Regions from separate parts of the Homo sapiens genome. Here region 2 is linked to region 1. Evidence: promoter capture Hi-C in 16 types of primary human blood cells and fetal thymus (Javierre and others, 2016). All regions are on one chromosome and are shown on one strand. The core of a region is centred on a gene start or on the middle of the fragment in contact, and the rest is flanking DNA. Distances in the headings are between cores, read along the strand shown.

Region 1 (7,712 bases), core at 3,976-6,475:
TATTATTATATTTTCTCTGTTCCTCCCTTGCTCTCTGGTTACCATGTGATTTCTCTGCTTCCCTTATAGCAATACACCTTGGAAGGGCTATTCTATACTCACAATTCCTCTCCTCCCTTTCCCTCTTGAACCCACTCCACTGAGGCTTTTGTACGACTACTGCAGCAATTCCTGACCAGGTCATCAATGACCTCCATGATCCAAAGGCCAATTTTCGTTTCTCATCTTGCCTGGCTTAAATGCAACACTGACAGGTTTTCACTCTCCTCCTCCTTGAAACATTTCCCTTAGCTTCTGGGATGCCACGTTCTTTGTTCAACTCTCACTTCAGTTACTCCTTCTTGGGCTCCTTTGTTGGTTCGTCATTTTTCTAAATGTTGGTGTGCCCCAGGGTTCAGTCCCAGACTGCTCTACTCAAGTGGCTCTCAACTGGGGGCGATTCTTCCTCATTCACCAGGATATTAAGCAATATCTAGAGATATTGTTGGTTATTGTAACTAGGGTAGAAGTGGCGGTATAGATGTGCTATTGCTATGCAGAGGGTAGAAGCCAGGAATGCTGCTTAACACCCTATAGCATACAGGACAGCCTTCCACAATGAAGACTTAGCTGACAATAATAGTGCAGAAGGTGAAAAATCCTAATTTATTCTCACTTTCTAGGTGATCTCATTCAGTAGAACAGCTTTAAGCACGATCTAATGCCAACAATTTCACAATCTGTATCTTTAGCCCAACTTCTCCACTCAACTCCTGACTACTGTCTCAACACTCACTTGGATATCTATCAGGCATCTCAGATTACACCTGTCCAAAACAGAACTCCTGGACTCACTGAACCTGAAGAAAACAAAAGTACCTGCTTCACCTATACGTTTTTCCATCGCAATTAATGACATCTCCCTAACTTCCAATTGCTCAAGCCAAAAATCTAGGGCTCACCTGTGACTCTTTTCTTTCTGTATACTCCCCATCCAATGCAACAGTAATTCTAACAAATTCACCTTGAAAACATATCCACAATCACAACATTTCTCACTGCCTCTGTCACTACCACCCTGATCTAAGCCACCATCATGTGTGAATTGTGGCACCAGCCTCCTAACTGGTCTCCCTGCACCTACCCTTTCCCCCACCACGCTCTATTCTCAAGACAGCAGTCAAAGCAATCCTTTAGAAGCCCAGATCTTAGATCACGTCATTCCTCCACTTTAACCTTCCACAGCTTCTTCTCATCTTACTCAGAGCAAAAGCCAAAGCTTAAAATAACCAACAAAGCCCTGATCTGGCCCTCAACTATCTCTTTCTTATTATTCTACCCTTTGTTCACTCAGCTGCAGACTCCTGGCTCCTTTCCACTCTTTGAACACAACAGGCTCCTGTTTCAGGGTTCTTTGCACTTTTTATTCCTTTTTCTTGGAAGGCTCCACCTGAAATACTCATTCCCCAGATATCCTTTCTTCTGCTCAAATGTCAGCTTACCCCTGGCTCTTGCCCAACCACCCTACATAAAACATTAACTCCCACAGGTATTCCTCTTCCCTCTTATGCTGTTCCCTTTTTCCTATTCCATTAATCAACTGACAAACTGTCAGAGGCATGTGAACCAGAACAACTCCATCTTGAATAGGAGTTGGGTAAAACAAGACTGAAACCTACTGGGATGCATTCCCAGACAGTTAAGGCATTCTAAGTCACAGGATGAGATAGGAGGTCAGCACAAAATACAGGTCATAAAGACCTTGCTGATAAAACAGGTTGCAATAAAGGAGCAAGCCAAAACCCACCAAAACCAAAATGGCGACAAGGGTGACCTCCAGTTGTCCTCACTGCTACACTCCCATCAACGCCATGACAGTTTACAAATGCCATGGCAACATCAGGAAGTTACATCAGGAGTCTAAAAAGTGGGGGCATGAATAATCCACCCCTGTTTAGCATATCATCAAGAAATAACCATAAAAATGGGCAACCAGCAGCCCTCGGAGCTACTCTGTCTATGGAGTAGCCATTCTTTTATTTACATTTTTTTTTGAGATGCAGTTTTGCTCTTGTTGCCCAGGCTGGAGTGCAATGGTGTGATCTCAGCTCACTGCACCCTCCACCTCCTGGGTTCAAGCTATTCTCCTGCCTCAGCCTCCCAAGTAGCTGGGATTATAGGCATGTGCCATCATGCCCAGCTAATTTTGTATTTTTAGTAGAGACACGGTTTCACCATGTTGGTCAGGCTGGTCTCGAACTCCTGACCTCAGGTGATCCACCTGCCTCGGCCTCCTAAAGTACTGGGATTACAGGTGTGAGCCACCATGCCTGGCTTCCTTTACTTTCTTAATAAACTTGCTTTCACTATGCACTGCGGACTTGCCCTGAATTCTTTCTTGTGCGAGATCCAAGAACCCTCCCTTGGGGTCTGGATCGGCACCCTTTTCCTGTAACAAAACTGCATGTACTTGGGGTTTTTTGGTTATTGTTGTTGTTGCCTATCTTCCTCCATAAGAGTAGGGACTTTGTTTTGTTCCCTGCTATATCCCTGTTCCCTAAAAACGGACTGAAATACATTAGGCAAGCAAATTTTCTTTCTTTCTTCCTGTTTTCTTAAAAGAGATGGGGTCTTACCCTTTTTCCCACCTGGAGTGCAGTGGCATGATCGGATCCTCCCACCTCAGCCTCCTGAGTAGTTAAGATGAAAGGCACACGCTACTCCGCCTGGCTTATTTTAAAAAATCAGGCTGGACACGGTGGCTTACGCCTGTAATCCTAGCAAGTTGGGAGGCCGAGAACGGGGCACTGCTTGAGTCTGGCAGTTCAAGACCAGTCTGGACAACAAGGCAAAACCCCATCTCTACAAAAACAAATAGAAAAATTAGCTGGGCATGGTGGTGCATACTTGTAATTCCAGCTACTTGGGAGGCTGAGGTGGGAGGGTCACTTGAACCCAGGAGGCGGAGACTGCAGTAAGCCATAATTGCACCAATGCACTCCAGCCTGGACAATGGAGCCAGACTGTCTCTCAAAAAGAAAAAAAAAAAAAAGCAGAAAGAAAAAAAAATTTTTTTTGTAGAAATGGGGTCTTGAACTCCCGGCCTCAAGAGATCCTCCCACCTCAGCCCCCCAAAGTGCTGGGATTACAGGTGTGAGCCACTGTGCCCAGCCAAAATATTTAATTAAATGAAATTTGTATCTCTAACATAAAGTCACTCTTTTGAGCCTTAGACCTGTAAACTTCAATGCCTACTTGACATTTCCAAAGGGCTGCTCCCCAGGTACTTCAAATTTACTATGTCCAATAGAATTATTCATATCTATCCAAAATCCATCTTCCGGGTATCTCTGTAAATGGCAACCCCTCCCCACTCACATCTGGTTAGTCACATGAGACACCAGGGAGCTGTCCTTGTTCTCTCTTCTTTTACCATCCCTTACCCCATATTCAATCCACCACCAAGCCCTAGTGAATCTATCTTCCAAAGGTATCTTGAATCCATCTACTTTTCTATTTCTAGTCATTCCCACAATTGAGCCACCAGCAACCCTTACTTGGGCCATGATAAAAGCAAAATTTTTTTTGTATTATACCCATCTAATCCAAATCCACTTTCCACAAAGTAGACTGAGATCTTCTAAAAATACATTTAAAAAAATTTAGATTCAGGGGTACATGTGCAGGTTTGTTACATGAGTATATTGTGTGTATATTCCTATATACATGAGGTTTGGGCTTCTGATGATCCTGCCGCCCAAGTTGTGAACACAGTATCCGATAGGTTTTCCAACCTTTGCTCCCCTCCCTCCCTCCTTTTGGAATCCCTAGTGTTAACTGTTCCCATCCAAAAATGCAATTTTGATGTTAGTAACTCTTTAAAAATCTTTCAATTATTACTCAATGTACTTAGGATAAAATCCAAAAATCCTTAAAAATGGCCTAAGGGTCCCTCATGGTCCGAGTCCTGCCTACCTCTCCAGCCTCAGTATCTCACATCACTTTCTGTTTTACCCACTGCACTTAAGCCACACAGATCTTTGGTCAGTTCCAAACCCGCCACATTCTTTCCACTTCATGACCTTTGCATATGGTGATCCTACTTGCTGGACTCCTCTCTGTCCACTCCCCATGCCTGGCTAACCTCGTGTCCTTTAGATCTCAGGGTAACTGTGAATTCCTTAAAGCCTTTCCCTGCCCCACTAATTATATTTGGTCCTCTTATTAGCCTCTCATAACCCGTATATTTTTCCTCTAGGGCAAGTTTTCCTCCAAAAAATTTCCCCATGAAAAGTGGGTCTACATCTATTCTGACATTGCTACAACGTCTTGCATGATGAAAATTGCAGTTTTGTTCATTTCGTCCTGGTACCTAGCACAATGCCTGACATATTGAAGCTCGAACGTATTTGTACAATGAAGGAAGCTGTAAAGCACTATAAAAACATAACGGGTTCATGTTTAAAATTGGTCTTATGGGCTTTATTCCCCTAAGCTACATTTCCTCTGCTTCTGGTGTTGCTTGGTGTATGTGTGTGTGGGGGTGGGGGGGGGGAGGGGGAGAGGTATCTCTTCTAGAACTCTGTGTCTCAGTTTTCCCGATTCTGATACGAACTGAAAAAACAATCTTTCTCTTTCCCTAAGTGTCAATTACCGCTTCTAGAATAGCACTTTGGGTACAGCGACGAAAATTTATACACCAAACCCTACCTTCCAGGGGAGTTTGGCGAACCACAACACTTACCAATGAATGAACCTGTTTCTGGTTACGGAGAACAACTTGCCACTCTCCACGTAGTAAAAGCCTCCCGCGCTTTCACTGTATTTTACGGCGCCAGCCACGGCATTTGCAGTCCCTGCAAAATGAACGTGGTCAGCCTGCACACGCGTCTTCTGAGAAATGACAGGGACTAAGGGAGCTGACAAAGCAGAGAGTGACAGACTGACAACCCATACAAAGAAAAGAGGAAAACGTCGGACATCAAGGAATCTCTGATCCCGGGGCTAGAGGCATGTGGACTCAGGAGGATGAAACAGGGCGTCAGGGACCCTGGGACCCATGAGAGGAGCCCGAGGGGACAGATGGGATCGCACCCTCCCTGGCCATTTCCGTACCAATGCTGCAGACTGTGAATTCCCGAAAGTGCCTCGGCCTTTCGCGCTCAGCTCCGCTTAGCTCCACGAAGCTCCGTTCCAGGGCTCCCGCCGCCGCCATCTTCCCGCCGTCGCCGCGACGCCCAACGGAACAAAGGCAGGGCCGCGCGGTCGCCGTCACTTCCGGGGGTGGGGCGGGCGGAGCTGCGGACAGGTGAAGCATTCCGGGAGCAGAAAGGCGGCTCCGGCCCTTCGTTGCGAGGCTTCCACCGGGAGAATGAGGGTGGGCAGCGAGGAATCCAGAAGAGAAGGGGGCAGGGGAGGCAGACTCTATCTGCGGGAACCTTCCAGTGGCCGGCTGGAACGCCTCCGGAGGGCGGTGCTCTTTTCTCAGCGGCCGCAGGGCAGGGGGCGGGGCCGGGTTTGTTTCTGTTTCTAAAACGCGGGGCTCAGTCGACCAGGAGGGGCGAGGTCCGGGGAGTCCCGGCCTTTCGGCGTCCTCTGCCGGATCCCGGGTTTATGGTCACCTCTCCCTCGGTTAGGGTGTCCGTCTGTAAATCTTTGGCGATCCTCCCTTCGCTCTTCAGTGGCGACACTTGGGATGGCGGGGTGAGGAAGGGGTAGTGAGGGAAAGGCCTTTGGTTTTGGTCTTTCCCCTCCCCAAGAGACTGTATTCGTGTATTCCTGTATAATGAAACGTAATGTGGTAAACCTTGGTGCTGCCACTTGCTGAGGTTACCTGAGTGCTACTCACTTGGATACGTGAAAGGAATTTGCCATTCCTTCCACCCGTGATCTTGCACTTGGCTGTCAATGCAGTAAGGGCCCATAGTGGGTGTTTAGAAGATATTGTGGGAGTAGATGTTCAAAATCGAGGAAAATGCTAATCTCCAGCGGGGAAGGTTTTGTTCCTTAGTGATAGCCAATAGAAGTTAAAGCACTTCTATTACCAGTGACCACAACCATTCCCTGTCATTCTCCGTTTCATTTATCTGGTTCCGACCATCATTTTCTATCTTTCCACTTCACTCCCTCTGGGACACCAACTTTGGCAGTGCAGTCCCCTCATTCTACCTGGAATCCATTGTTCTACAAAATCTTCACTGTCCCACACTTCTTTGGTGTTTCTTTCTTATCCTGAATACCATTAAATTACTTCATTGCCTAACTCTTCATCGGTAAAAACTACAACTTCGACTACATTCAAATCTGTAGCTGAACATGACTGGAGAAAACTATACACCCGGGTCGGGCGTGGCTCCCAGCATTTTGGGAGGCCAAGGCGTGAGGATCACTTGAGGTCAGGAGTCCGAGACCAGCCTGGCCAACATGGTGAAACCCGGTCTCTACCAAAAATAGAAAAATTAGCCGGGCGCGGTGGCTCACGCCTGTAATCCCAGCGCTCTGGGAGGCAGAGGTGGGTGGATCACGAGGTAAGGAGTTTCAGACCAACCTGGCCAACATGGTGAAACCCTGTCTCTATTAAAGATACAAAAAATTAGCCGGGCATGGTGGTGCACGCCTGTAATCCCAGCTACTCGGGAGGCTGAGGCAGGAGAATCGCTTGAACCTGGGAGGTGGAGGTTGCAGCGAGCCAAGATCGCGCCACTGCACTCCAGCCTGGGTGACAAAGCGAGACTGTCTCAAAAAAAAAAAAAAAAAGAAGAAAGAAAAAAAGAAAAATTAGCTGGGCATGATGGTGCGCTCATGTAATCCCGGCTACTTGGGAAGCTGAGGCAGGAGAATCGCTTGAACCCGGAAGGTGGAGGTTACAGTGAGCCAAGATCTCGCCGTTGCACTCCAGCCTGGGCAACAAGAGCGAAACTCCGTCTCAAAAAAAGAAAAGAAAGAAAACAGAAAACTATACACCCATACTGACATGCCTCCCTGTAACTCCATCAGGACCATGTACCTTGAGTGGGCCCATAATGCTGCCCAGCAAACACATTGTATTTGCCTTCTCCATTTACTGTTCTAAATGAATATTTCATAACTCCTATAACCTCCATTGCCTCCTTTGTCATCCTGACTCTCAGCTTGCTTCTTCATTTAGAAAATTAAAGCAGAGGCTGAGATGGAAGGATGGCTTGAGGCCAGGAGTTCAAGACAAGCCTGGGCAACATACCCCCATCTCTAATAAAAATTTTTAAAAAACTAGCCAGGCATAGTTGTGTGCCTCTGTAGTCCCAGCTATAGGAGGTTTCTTGAGCCCAGGAGTTGGAGGATACAGTGAGCTACAATCCTGCCACTGTGCTCCAGCATGGCCAGAAAGACACCCATCTGGAAAGAAGGAAGGAGGAAGGGAGGACTTCCTCTATAATGACATCTCCCCACCTACCAGCATCTGTAACCACATATTTTGCCTTCCCTTCCTGTTACTATAAACTGTCTCTGAGCTTATGCAGAGACAACCTTTCTACTTCCTTAGAACACCTGCTCAAGGACATCATTCTAGCAATTCAATTATTTCCATTTTCAGTCTTTTCCCCTTTTCTCTTAGTACTGTATGTACTAAGCATACAAACATTCCCTCGACCTCCACTCTCTGCAGCTACTACTCCATATCTCTTCTCCTCTCACCCACAGCAAAACTCAAGAGTGTTTTAATTCCTTCTCTCTCATTCTCATATATATATATA
Region 2 (7,720 bases), core at 1,800-4,299, 1.0 Mb before region 1:
CCTATATAGGGATAGTCATAGCAATGTTGTTCATAGTAGTCAAAAGCTGGAAACAGTTCACATGTTCATCAAACTGTGCTTTTCAAACTCAGGACCAGTCTTCCCCCTACCACCCCCACCAACTGAATACTAGTATGTCTGTAAAATACAATAAAAATTATTATACCTCTGTATTTTTTAAGTTGAATGCCAAATGGTCCAGCTGCTGTGAATGCAAAATGGTCTAGCTGCTGTGTAAAACCATTTGGAAGTTTCTCAAAAAGTTAAAAGTATCATATAGGGATGAGCAGACTGATCTGGATTTTATAAACAGATATAAGAACCAAGTTTTTGCTACACAGTAGAGTTTGATGCCTAAAGAGCAAATAAAATTGCCAACAAAGAGAAGCATTAAGAAGATTAATTTGAACTATACATAATGCTTGCTGTGGTTTATTTGATCTAGTCCCTAGTAAAGACACATATTCAGAAATTTCAATTATTCAGAGCTCTCAGATTTTATCCCAGTCTAAAACTGAGGCAAAGACAAGTAGGTCAGCTAAAGTAAGTATGTTTTACAGATATATTATAATCATATACCACTGATCTAAAAATGTCTTCCTAAGAGCTCAAATACCATATAGTCCATGCTATTGCTGAAAAGGTTTAGGCATAATTGTTTATTTTTAGACTAGAGGTTAAGAAATGTTTTCAAGGTTATACATGAAGGCAGAACTTAGAATAAATTCCAAATTGTCTGATTTTTCAGTTTAGTGTTCAAATAAATAACAAATTTCCTATTAAATATGCACTATATCCCATCATAAAAGAGACCCCAAAATCTGTGCATTTTCTCATTAACCAACCATTTAAAAGGGACAGAGAGATTAAGTCATGAGTAATACTAGAGCTGGGCCTAGAACCTATGTCTCCTACTTCTCAGTCTGTCTCTCTTCCCTACAACCCATGGGCCCAAGTGTGGTGTCTTTTTAGTTTAAATTCCTGTATTTTGATAGTCTATAAGAGTAATTACAGAGCTACTGTACAGATTATTTTCTCTTCTACTTAGAGAAAAACCACTGGCAGTATGACTTTTTTATGGCAAATTCCCAAGCTCTTGACCTACAAAAGCTCTTCACTATCACAATACAAGAGATCTGAATTTGATTACCATTCCTGGACTCTCACCTCTGGCTAAGGAGATGCTATTGCAGAAGCACAGAATGATTTTAACAGAAGTTTGAGAAAAACTTCTGCTCCATCAAAAAGCAACCCATTTGAATGACCACTGAGTGTGATGATAGGCTCATAAAAAAAAAAAAAGAAATTATTTTTTTAAAAAAGCAATGCATACACATGCCCAGAAATCTACTCAAACCATGTCTAGGAAGGACAACTGGATTAAAGAAACACAACAACTATGTAACTGTCATAGAAAACTTAAGATTTTTATTATTTAACCAAAATCTGACAAAATCCCATCTCTGAGTAGCAGGTGGCAAAAATGACAACACTTTCCCTCAAATTAAAAAAAAAACTCACTGTCTCCAGGTATTTCCCATTAACAAGGACAAGTGTTATCCTCTTGCCGGAGTATTCTGCATTACCAGGCGGCCAGAAATCTGAACAGTTTTCTAGCAGATTATCTCAAACTTTGGTGTGTTTGCTTTCCTAATCTTGGGACAGTGGCGTCCCACAAATTCCTTCAGAGATGGAGAGGGGTAAAGAGCTGTCTCTTTCACATTGTGCTCTTTATATCAGGAGGAAAGGTTAACTGGACTCTTCCTAAGAGATGTTCACTGTCAACATATCCAAAAGGGGTACGGGATACCACCAACACAGGCCTCTGGAGAGACAGCTAAACCTGGCTGTGAATTAGGACAACTTGGAGTTACTGCTCGACTGTACCAAGGTAGCTGAAAACCTAATGCTTACTCATCCCAAAGCTACCAAGGTCTTCAAATACCAGGGTAAGGATCCAAGGCCCAGAGAGAGAGATTCAGCTCCACCCATTCAGCTCAAATGGGTTATACTCTGGTAAAAGCAACCCTCTCCTCACCCCAAGTAAGAACCAGGTGGGGGCAAAGCCAGGTCGTGGGCACTGCTCACCCACTGCATGCCCAAACAAGCACCCTACGGCTGCTGTCACCACCCAGAAGTAGAGCAGATACCCTGGCTTTAGCTCACTGGAGCCGGCATTGTTTACGCTCTTTCGCCGCCTTAGCCTCTGATAGGCCAGCAAAGTCCCCAGTACTGTCCACCAGGACTTGCAGCACGGTCGCGGGATGCTTGCCCTTTGCCCGTGGTTTGACACTTACGCTCCCCGGGCAGGGAGAGGTCAGGGAAGCTAAGGTCCGAGCAGGATCAGCAGGAATACCCGGCAGGCGGCGGCGGCGGCGGCAGCAGCATTGGTGCTGCGGTCCGCTGGGAAACGCCTCCTCCGAGGGCGGGGCCCGGAGCGCCACTGTCAGAGTGCCCGCCCCACCCTCAGCTCCCCTCTCCGCACACTCTGAAAGCTTAAAGGGGCCGCAGTGTATCTTCGCCCAGAGGTTTGCAGGCCTCAGGCGCTGCTTCTAGGTCCTAGGCTTTCCCAGGCAAGAGGCAAATGATGGACCAACTAGGAAGACTACTGCAGTTGGGTGGACCTCTTTTTTTGGTAGTATTACACGTAATATTCCAGAAACAAAGGAGATGACCAGTTCCCACTATCACAATCCTAATCCCTCCTCCAAGGGTGAAAAAAATTACTGCAGGTAACAGCCAAAGCATCAAGGTAGATACATAGCCCCTCATTATATGTAAGCTGCTTACTTCATTAACCTCCTTTGGACTCGAGCAGTTCTTCAAATGGCAACTCAAAGGCCTGGAAAAGATCCTACAATGCTCCACCTCACCTTTTCACGGAATTCGTTCTTTACAAAACTGGAGGAATCCTGGACAATGATACAAGATGGGCAGGAAGGTAATAGAAGGTGAAATAGAAAAATACCAGCCTGGGCAACAAAGTGAGACCCCATCTCTACAAAAAATAAAAAATTAGCTGGGCATGGTGGTACAAGACTAGTCCCAGCTACTCCGGAGGCTGAGGTGGGAGGATCCTGAGCCCAGGACTAGGCTGCAGTGAGCCAGACTGCACCACAGCACTCCACCCTGAACAACTAACCAAAACCATACCTCTATAAAAGAAAAAAAGAAAAATAACCTTCCCCATCTTGTGTGTAAAATGTGATCTTTCAAAAATTGACCTAAAAGTCAACGTAAATAAATGTACAAGTCTATGTAAGTAATCTTGCATGCCAATACAATTGTAATGTGCAATCATCTAATTTAATATGAAGAGTTCTTAAGAAAATTGTAGTAGAAACGGCATTAATATTTCAAGGAGTTAAGTCCTAGTCTCTGAGATCTCCAAAGGTTAGCAACTAGTTTTAATTTTCTTTTTGTAGGAGGAGTTTGTCCTGAATCCTAGTTTACAAGGTTTGACTGCATTTTGTGTCTCCCATCATACCAACAGGAAAGATATGTGCTTTTTTTAAGTCCATATTACTCCACCTAATTTAGATGAATCAACACACCTCCTTAAAGCCTTGGGCCATCATCAGATCAGTACAGGAATCAATGTAGTAAGCTTAAAGACCATTTGTAAGTAACCCAATTTCTCCTATCCACAACAGGAATAAAGCAGAAATTTAAGAATCCAAAGAACAGTTATGAAGATTGCTCCACCAGGGAGCAGACTCAGGTTACTCTTATTCTGAAGGTTTTAGAGAACCCTAAGCTAAAGTTGCCAAGTATCTTTTCCTTACTTGGGTGGGGGCGGGGTAGATAAATAAATAAAGTTGCCAAGTAAAAAATGGATTCAGATTAAAACAGTCTGATTTTTGAACTGCCAAGACAGTCTCATTCTACAATGCATTTAACTGTAAAGAATACCTCTGAATTAGGTAATTAAGACCTTCATTCATTATATTCCCATCAAGCTTAACTGTTCTGAGGGTAATGGTTTGCAGATCAGCCTTTCTCATCAGATTGTGAGTTCCTCAAGGGCAAGGGCTGGAATGTATCTTAATTATCTTTTTCTTCCAATGTGTGATACAAAATAAGTACCCAACAAATATTTATCACAAGAGGTATGACCAACATTTTCTGTTACATAGCATTCTAGTGACATAGGACTTCAGTTAACTGCAATAAACATAGTACAATGAGTGTATGTGTGTATGCACACACAAATGGATAATACCCTGTGCTGTGCTTATGAGCGAATTAAACATTTTAAAAATTAGAGAAAAAAATCTACTAACAGTCACAAAAAAAGTCAAATACTGTATGAACCCACTTTTATGAGGTATGCAGTCAAATTCATGAATTCATAGAACCAGAAAGTAGAATGGTAGTAACCAAAGATGGGGTGGGGGTGTGGCTTGGGAGGGGGATAAGAGAAATATTTAGATACAGAGTTTCAGATTAGCAAGATGAGAAAGTTCTGGAGATCTGTTTCATAACGATGTGAATATACTTAACACTATTGAACTGTACACTTAAAAATGGTTAAGATGGTAAATTTTATACTATTGTTTTTTACCATACACAAAAAATGAGACATTCGTCTATACAAAAATTGCTTTGCAAATATTTAAAGTAAACAAAAGATGATATGGAAGACAGAAGTAAATATATAAATACAGTTGACCCTTGAACAACATGGATTTGAACTGCACGGGTTGACTTGCATGTGAATTTTCTTCTGCCCCTGTCACCCTTAAGACAGCAAGACCAACCCCTCCTCTTCCTCAGCCTATTCGACATGAGGATGACAAGGATGAAGACCTTTATGATGATCCACTTCCATTTAATGAATAGTAAATATATTTTCTACTTACTGGGCAATAAAGTCTTACTTTACTTAAAAGACAGTCTACTTACTGTCTCTAAAAATAAATACAAAAAATTATCTGGGCCTGGTGGCACATGCCTGTTAGTCCCAGCTACTCGGGAGGCTAAGGTAGAAGGATTGCCTGAGCCCAGAAAGAGTGAGCCAAGAGGGGACCACAACACTCCACCCTGAACGATGGAGCGAGAAAAAATATTTTTCCTCCTTCTGATTTTCTTAACATTTTCTTTTCTCTAGCTTACTTTACTGTAAGAATACAATATATAATACATATACAAAATATGTGTTAAACAATTATGTTATCAATAAGGCTTCTGGTCAACAGTAGGCTATTAGTAAAGTTTTGGGGGTGTCTAAAATTATATGTGAAGTTCCCACTGCACAGGGGGATCCCTAACGTTGGCATTGCTCAAGGGTCAAATGTGCCTATGTGGAAGAAATCCATTAAGTTTTAAGAAGAAATTTGCAAGACAGTATATGAAGTCTAATTCCTTTTTTGTATGTGTGTGTGTGTGTGTGTGTGTGTGTGTGTGTGTGTGTGTGTGTATCTCACATACACATTTACATATGCATTTGTGTAGGCTGATAATGACCCCCAAAGAAATCACGTTGTAATCCCTGGGACTTGTAAATGTTACTTTATTTGGAAAAAGGGTCTTTGCAGATGTGATTAAATTAAGGATCTTGAGATGGGGGGATTACCCTGGATTGTTTGGGTGGGTAAAGGCAATCACATATATCATTATGGGCAAGACGGAGGGAGATTTGACCCAATGGAGAAAGTGATATGAAGAGGGATCAGAGAAAGATTAGAATAGAGTAGGCCGGGCACGGTGGCTCACGCCTGCAATCCCAGAACTTTGGGAGTCCAAGGCAGGCAGATCACAAGGTCAGGAGGTCGAAACCATCCTGGCTAACACGGTGAAACCCCGTCTCTACTAAAAATACAAAAAATTAGCCGGGCGTGGTGGCAGGCACCTGTAGTCCCAGCTACTCGGGAGGCTGAGGCAAGAGAATGGCATGAACCTGGGAGGCAGAGCTTGCAGTGAGCCGAGATGGCACCACCGCACTCCAGCCTGGGCAACAGAGCAAGACTCCGTCTCAAAAAAAAAAAAAAAAAAAAAAAATTAGAATAGAGTAGAGAAAGATGGCCACAGGCCTAGGAGTGCCAGCAGCCACCAGAAGCTGGAAGAGGCAAGGAACAGATTCTTTCCTAGGGGCTCTGGAGGGAGTGTGGCCCTGCTGACTGACACCCTGATGTAGGTCCATAAGACTCATTTTGGATTTCTGGCCTCCATACTGTGAGAGAATAAATCCTGTTTTTTTAAGCCACCAAGTTTGTGGTCATTTGTTACAGCAGCCATAGAAAACTAGGACATCATTGTACATGTTTGAATGCACATAAACATTTTCTGGAAGGATCTGTAGAAAATTATTAACCATGGGCCGGGGTGGTGGCTCTTGCCTGTAATCCCAGCACTTTGGGAGGCCAAGGTGGGGGCGGATCACGAGGTCAGGAGATCGAGACCATCCTGGCTAACAGGATGAAACCATGTATCTACTAAAAATACAAAAAAATTAGCCGGGCATGGTGGCGGGTGCCTGTAGTCCCAGCTACTCGGGAGGCTGAGGCAGGAGAATGGCGTGAATCTGGGAGGCGGAGCTTGCAGTGAGCCGAGATCGCGTCACTGCACTCCAGGCTGGGCAACAAAGTGAGAATCAGTCTCAAAAAAGAAAAAAATTGTTAACCATGACTTCTGAGAGTGTGTCTAAGGGTTAAGCAAAGAAATTTTTTTGAAAAAACTTTTACTTTGAACTTTAATACCCATCCATGCCTTCTGATTTTTAATAATGAGCTTCAGCATCTTTTATAATAATGTTTTTGTATTTTTTATATTATTAAATTTTTTTCATTTACTTTTTCTTTATTTAACTCCCGCTTAGATGATAAATAATGCTTTTAAAAGCTTTAAAACTTTAAAATTCCCACTTAGAGGCTTGAAGTTGGATCATCTGCCTATACTCATCCCATAGGCTACACTTCACTCTCTCTCTTAACATTTTTTGTATACATGATATCTCCTTTGAAAGAAGGAACTGAGTCTTATTCATTATCCCAGCATTGCATAGTGCTTTGTGCTCTAGTGTAAAATTTCTAAAATGGCACCATTTCATCAAGTCACAGAAGTCTTTCTGTTTTTTGTTTTTTGAGACAGGGTATTGCTCCATTGCCCAGGCTGGAGTATGGTGGTGCAATAACTGCTCACTCTAGTCTCATCCTCCCAGCCTCATGTGAGCCTCCTGCCTCAGCCTCCTGAGTAGCTAGGACTACTGGGGCATGCACCACCACATCTGTCTAATTTTTAAATTTTTTTGTAGAGACAGGGTCTCACTATGTGGCCCAGGCTGGTCTCGAACTCCCAGGCTCAAGCAGTCCTCCTGCCTCAGCCTCCCAAAGAGTTGATATTACACTTGCGAGCCACCCCACCCAGTCAGAAGTCTTAAATATACAATAAACTTATCCTTTTTTTTTTTTTTTTTTTCTGAGACAGGGTCTTGCTTTGTTACTGAGGCTGGCGTGCAGTAGCAGGAACATGGCTCACTGCAGCCTCGACTTCCGGGGCTCTGGCAAAACTTCTGCCTCAGCATCTCATGTGGCTGGGACCACAGGTGTTTGCCACCATGCCCAACTTTTTTACTTTTTGTAGAGATGGGGTCTCACCACTTGCCCAGGCTGGTTTTGAACTCCTGGACTCAAGTGAACTGCCTGCCTCAGCCTCCCAAAGTGCTGGGATTACAGGCATGAACCACTGCGCCTGGTCTTATAAAGAAAATTTTGTAGAATGT

Evidence for each region. The method cuts DNA at HindIII sites, captures the fragments that hold promoters and counts their contacts. A CHiCAGO score of 5 or more calls a contact.
Region 2: a contact is called between a fragment that was not itself captured here and the fragment with the promoter of NUP160 in region 1, in 1 of 17 cell types (fetal thymus). The highest score is 6.7, in fetal thymus.

The regions. Positions count from the first base shown.
Region 1 is chr11:47,843,125-47,850,836 of GRCh38, forward strand. NUP160 (nucleoporin 160) reads right to left here and starts at 5,226. Exons shown (of 36, transcript NM_015231.3): 1 at 5,095-5,226; 2 at 4,724-4,835. The coding sequence starts at 5,194. RefSeq lists enhancers at 5,164-5,723, 7,186-7,235, 7,266-7,315. The HindIII fragment of the contact is 7,211 bases long and covers 1,257-7,712 here.
Region 2 is chr11:46,824,465-46,832,184 of GRCh38, forward strand. All of the region lies in intron 1 of CKAP5 (cytoskeleton associated protein 5), which reads right to left. Among named protein-coding and RNA genes, the nearest start is that of CKAP5, 18 kb to the right of the region's middle. RefSeq lists enhancers at 1,721-2,273, 2,274-2,824. The HindIII fragment of the contact is 1,112 bases long and covers 2,494-3,605 here.